Regions from separate parts of the Homo sapiens genome. Here region 1 is linked to region 2. Evidence: promoter capture Hi-C in human tissues and cell types (Jung and others, 2019). All regions are on one chromosome and are shown on one strand. Each heading gives the region's core, a stretch centred on a gene start or on the middle of the fragment in contact. The rest is flanking DNA. Distances are from core to core; before and after follow the strand shown.

Region 1 (3,273 bases), core at 51-2,550, 110 kb before region 2:
CACGGAGTCGAACCTCTATTTCTCTGGGAGCCACTTAACACTCAGAGCCCAAAGCTGTGTCCCCCAGAGGTGTCTGTGTATCTTGTGCATCCGCCCTTCACCCAAGTGCTCCAAGGATCACTCCTGCGACACTTCTCCTGAGGGACTCCCATGCCCCTCCCTACACTGCAGTGTCAGGCCTGCTCTGGGACTGGCAAACGCTGATGGGCTCCGGAAGCAGAAAGCAATCTATCCCTGGGGAGAGGGAACACGATTTGAGGCGGTGCTTTTCAACTTTTTCTTCAGCCCTATAACTCTTTGTTCAAAATGAAACCTTCTCTAGAAGCCTAGGACATCAAGCAGATAAGCAAGAAGCTGCTCAGGCCCAGGCTGGGGGTGAGAGCCCCAGGGTCTGGTCCTGTCCCTATCCTCAGCCCCTGAGAAGGCAGCTCAGAACCAGGTTTGAACACCACTGATTTAAGCAATCCTTAGCCCTGGTGGTGGGGGTCTTAGCAAGAGGAGGCTCCCTCCAAGACAAACTGTAGTTTTTTCCTCTAAGACCCAACTATTCCCTGTTGGAGCTACTCACACCAAACCCATTTCCCCATGAGTCTAACAGTTCTCTCTTCTGGCTTTAGACCACATGGCTTTTAAACATGAGAAGAGTTCATCCTCACCACCTTGAGAAAAATGTAAAAGTGAACTACCTTAAGACACCTTCTCACCAATCACACAGGCAAAGAGAAAAGTCTTACTAAGCCAGAATGTGGGAAAGGGCGAGGGGAAATGGGCTCTCTTGTATGTTACCCTTGGGAGTATAAATTGGTATGGTTCAAAAAATTAGCCAGGAGTGGTGGTGGGCGCCTGTAGTCCCAGCTACTTGGGAGGCTGAGGCAGGAGAATGGCGTGAACCCGGGAGGCGGAGCTTGCAGTGGGCCGAGATTGCACCACTGCACTCCAGCCTGGGCAACACAGCAAGACTCCATCTCAAAAAAGTAAAATAAATTGGTATGGTTATAATCTTCAGAGGGCACTTTGGCAATATAGATTAAAAAAAAAATTTTTTTTTTTGAGACGGAGTCTCGCTCTGTCACCTGGGCTGGAGTGCAGTGGCATGATCTCGGCTCACTGCAAGCTCCGCCTCCCGGGTTCACGCCATTCTCCTGCCTCAGCCTCCCAAGTAGCTGGGACTACAGGTGCCCGCCACCACGCCCGGCTAATTTTTTCTATTTTAGTAGAGATGGGGTTTCACCTTGTTAGCCAGGATGGTCTCGATCTCCTGACCTCGTGATCCGCCCGCCTCGGCCTCCCAAAGTGCTGGGATTACAGGCGTGAGCCACCGCACCCGGCCTAGATTAAAATTTTACATGGCTACCATTTGACCCAAAATCTCCATTTCTAGGAATCTGCTCTACAGATAACACCCATTTGTAAGACTATGCATTGTAGCCTTTTTTTGTAGTATCAAGGAATGGGAAACAATCTGAATGTCCATCAGTGGGAAGCTGGTTAAATACATTATCCTACATCTACACAATAGAATACCCTGACACCGTGAAAAAAATAAAGGAAGCTTTAAAATAAGGTATGCAGGCCAAGCACAGTAGCTCACACCTGTAATACCAGCACTTCAGGAGGCCAAGGCCAGTGCATCATTTGAGGCCAGGAGTTTGAGACCAGCCTGGCCAACATGGCGAAACCCTGTCTCTACTAAAATACAAAAATTAGCCCGGCGTGGTGGTGGGTGCCTGTAATCCCAGCTACTTGGGAGGCTGAGGCATGAGAATCACTTGAACCTGGGAGGCAGAGTTTGCACTGAGCTGAGATTGTGCCACTGCACTCCAGCCTGGGCGACAGAGTGTGACTCTTGTCTCAAAATAAATAAATAAAATAGATATGCAACTACAACTATTAGAGAGGCCGTGAATGTGAGTAAATGTGTATAGTTCTATATAACATATGCCTGTACATGTGTTATAACATCTCCTAGACAGCATCTCTAGGAGAACATTTTTTCTTTTTTTTTTTTTTGAGACAGAGTCTTGTCTGTCACCCAGGCTGGAGTGCAGTGGTGCGATCTCAGCTCACTGCAACCTCTGCCTCCCGGGTTCATGTCATTCTACTGCCTCAGCCTCCCTAGTAGCTGGGACTACAGGCGCCCGCCAGCACACGTGGCTAATTTTTTGTATTTGTAGTAGAGACGGGGTTTCACTGTGTTAGCCAGGATGGTCTCAATCTCCTGACCTCGTGATCCACCCGCCTTGGCCTCCCAAAGTGCTAGGATTACAGGTGTGAGCCACCAGGCCCGACCCAAGGAGAATATAGTAAGAACCCATAATGGGCCTGGCACGGTGGCTCACACCTGTAACCCCAGCACTTTGGGACTCCGAAGTGGGTGGATCACGAGGTCAGAAGTTCAAGACCACTCCGGCCAACATAGTGAACCCCATCTCTACTAAAAATACAAAATATTAGCCGGGTGTGATGGTGTGCGCCTGTAATCCCAGCTACTTGGGAGGCTGAGGCAGAAGAATCGTATGAACCCAGGAGGCGGAGGTTGCAGTCAGCCAAGATTGCACCGTTGCACTCCAGCCCGGGTGACAGTACAAGACCCCGTCTCAAAAAAAAAAAGAACTCATAATGAAGGCTGCCTCTGAGGGGAAACTTAAGGGTGGGAAGGATGGAGAGTTACTTTTTTTTTTTTTCTATAACAAAATGCTGTAAATTGGAGACTTTTCACTGTACACACCTTTTAGAACTATTAGAATGTTCTCTCTGGTGTGTATTACCTTTATAAGAACAATTAAAACAAGAACCCCCTCCTTTGGTCCCCAGGCTTTGGCAGGTGGCATCTCTGCAAGCTCTCCAAGGAAGAAACCTCCACCCCACCAGTCTCCCCAGTCCTTTCTGCTTTTCCTCCATCCTTGCAACCGTGGTGGAAGCGGCCCAGCTCCAGGTATACAAAGGTGGCTGGAAGCCATGCTGAGCGCATCCGTAGCCCCTCTTTCCACCTAGGTGTGGCTGGGTCCCAGAAGAGTCTGGATCCCTCAGAAGGACCCCAAAGCCCCAGGGTACCCAGCCCCAGACAAGACCCCAGACACGCAGCCTGGCCTACCGCCCACAGCTCTTTCACTCCCTCAATGTGGCTTGGGCCAGGCAAGGCAAAACCCCTCTCCTCTTTTCAGAACAGGGGTTCAGTGATCCCTGCTTGCTTAGTCCCCCAGATGGACCTGACTTTACAAAACAGAGAGGAGCCTTCTTCTGGTAACCCATCACCTCTTCCAGGCAGCCCCC
Region 2 (2,500 bases), core at 1-2,500:
CGGAGCCCCCGCGGGGGTGTGGCCAGTGTGAAGGGTGGGGGCGTGGCCAAAACCCAGAGACCCCGGGAAAAGCTCTGGCTGTCTCGCCCCGCCCTGGGCTTTATTCGGACGCTGGGTGGGGCTGGTACGGGGATGGAGTCCCTGGTCCGCCGTCCTCCTCACTGCTGCTGGACGTCACCTGGAGGTCTCCCGAGTAGCTCTCTTGGGGGACAGTCCGGCTCAGTGCCTCCCTAGCCCCGCCGCCTCTGGCCCCTAACTCACCCCGTGTCCTGAGCTCACCGGTTCTCCGGGGATTCCGAGGCCTAGCTGCTGTTGCGACTGTCGCAGGAATGAGGCAGACCCCTGCAGACCCCGTCCACACAGGCATAGCCATGCTCCCTGGACTAGGAGCCGGGCGCTGGCGCCCACCGCAGCCCCAGCTTGCCGAACCCCCTGCCCTGCGGCTTGGGCTACCCGGCTCAGCGCTGCACCCGGATCCCTGCCGTCTGGGGCTGGGCCCGCGCTGCCGTCTAGTCGCCGCGCCTCCTGCTGCAGCCACAGGGCTGAGATCTGCATTGGGGGCACAGGGGTTAGCGGGGAGGCAGAGGTCCTTGTTCCCGCTACCCGATCGCCGCGTATCCTAAGCCCCCCAGTACCCCACCTCTAACAAGGTGGTGCCGAAGCTCACGAGGCTGGCTGTGGCTTCTCTCAACACCAGCCCCAGGGTGGGCTTCGGGGCAGGCAGCATCCCCTGCATCTTCGGTTCGGGTGGCTCCAGGGACTTCAGCTCTCTGAACCTCTGCTCCAGATATTCATGGGCTGCGGCCACGGAGAGTTCCAGGGAAGACAGAAGCGGGGGCTGGAGGGCCACCTGGAGAAGGAGCAGAGCAGTAGAGTAGCAGGGCAGGGGTCACAGGGGCGAACAGGAGACCTACCCAGAAGGTCTCGAGGTGCAGCCCTTGGCGGGCGTAGCCTCACCTCGGTGGAGCTGTGGAAGTGGTAGATCCACATCAGGGTGTCCAGGGAGCTGGGGGTCCCCTTCATGGCCGCCACAAGTGGTAGGACAGGAGAAGGGCTGGGGGACGCGTCTGTCGTCGTGTAGGGGGCGCAGCTGGAGGGCGTAACCAGCCCGTACCAGGAGAAGCCGTGTTTGTGAGGTCAGCGCGCGGCGCCTTCGGTAGCTGGGAGGAGGAACGGTGATGTCATGCCTTCCGGGCTCCTCAGGTTCCTTATTTTCGTCATGGTGGTCGCCACGCTCATTGTCATGAATTGCGTCATCGTGCTCAACGTGTCCCAGCGGACGCCCACCACCCACGCCATGTCCCCGCGGCTGCGCCACGTAAGCGCGGAGGGGGCGGTGCAGCCCGGGTCGGGGTGGGGCTTCGTACTAACCTCGTCCCCTAAGCCCCGCCCCTGCCCCAGGTTCTCCTGGAGCTGCTGCCGCGCCTCCTGGGCTCCCCGCCGCCGCCCGAGGCCCCCCGGGCCGCCTCGCCCCCAAGGCGGGCGTCGTCGGTGGGCTTATTGCTCCGCGCGGAGGAGCTGATACTGAAAAAGCCACGGAGCGAGCTCGTGTTTGAGGGGCAGAGGCACCGGCAGGGGACCTGGACGGGTGAGCACAGTGGCCCTGGCCCGGGGGGCCGCGCGGGGTGCCTGCCAGGGGGGAGGCTCCTAAGGCCCACCCCGGTGTTTTCCCCGCCAGCTGCCTTCTGCCAGAGCCTGGGCGCCGCCGCCCCCGAGGTCCGCTGCTGTGTGGATGCCGTGAACTTCGTGGCCGAGAGCACGAGAGATCAGGAGGCCACCGGCGAGGTGGGACAGGAGCCAGAGGCGGGTGGAGCGAGGCAGAGGCCCACCACTGTCTCCCATGCCGCTGGCTCCTGCAGCTGCCTCTTTACTGACTGTGCCGACCCTTCCCCAGGAAGTGTCCGACTGGGTGCGCATGGGGAATGCCCTTGACAACATCTGCTTCTGGGCCGCTCTGGTGCTCTTCAGCGTGGGCTCCAGCCTCATCTTCCTCGGGGCCTACTTCAACCGAGTGCCTGATCTCCCCTACGCGCCGTGTATCCAGCCTTAGCTCGCACCGACTTCAATTTCCCACCCATCTCCAGTAGGAAATTGATTTTGAAAAAGTAGGCTGCCGCCACCACGGCATTATGATCCCTTCCCCCTGCTGATCAATCTGCAGTTTGTGAACTTCACAAGAATGGTGTGTGCCCGTTCCCTGGCGTGTGTAGGCCTGGCCGCAGTCCAGGGGTCAGCAGGAGGAAAGGGTTCACATAGGCTCTCAGGTGCCAGTCTTCCAGAAAGCAAGGACTGCCCTTCATTCAGCCTTGCTGACCTCCCAGCCTTTCTAAGGCTCAGCCCCACGGGACTCTGGTGGCTGCCAGCTTGTGAGCTATCTATCTATATTCATTTCATAGCCAAACAGGAGACCCCTTTGCAGGACTTGCACACAGGGAGGCTGTAGCCAGGAAACCCTCTTCTTCCCTGGTCTGGCTCTGCTGGAGCGGGTGGGAACCAAACA

What was found. The method cuts DNA at HindIII sites, captures the fragments that hold promoters and counts their contacts. A contact is called where the count stands out against the background at its distance.
Region 1: a fragment that was not itself captured here is called in contact with the fragment with the promoter of C17orf107 in region 2 in 2 of the 25 tissues and cell types used here (aorta and spleen).

What each region holds. Positions count from the first base shown.
Region 1 is chr17:5,008,524-5,011,796 of GRCh38, reverse strand. All of the region lies in intron 16 of KIF1C (kinesin family member 1C), which reads right to left. Among named protein-coding and RNA genes, the nearest start is that of KIF1C-AS1, 9.9 kb to the left of the region's middle. The HindIII fragment of the contact is 9,299 bases long and covers 1-3,273 here.
Region 2 is chr17:4,898,286-4,900,785 of GRCh38, reverse strand. It overlaps C17orf107 (chromosome 17 open reading frame 107), which reads right to left and starts at 1,250. Exons shown (of 3, transcript NM_001145536.2): 1 at 958-1,250; 2 at 641-850; 3 at 1-549. The coding sequence starts at 1,023. The coding sequence ends at 253. It overlaps CHRNE (cholinergic receptor nicotinic epsilon subunit), which reads left to right. Exons shown (of 12, transcript NM_000080.4): 9 at 1,204-1,318; 10 at 1,402-1,588; 11 at 1,679-1,785; 12 at 1,895-2,500. The coding sequence ends at 2,050. RefSeq lists an enhancer at 864-1,173 and silencers at 1,374-1,483, 1,504-1,653. The HindIII fragment of the contact is 33,281 bases long and covers 1-2,500 here.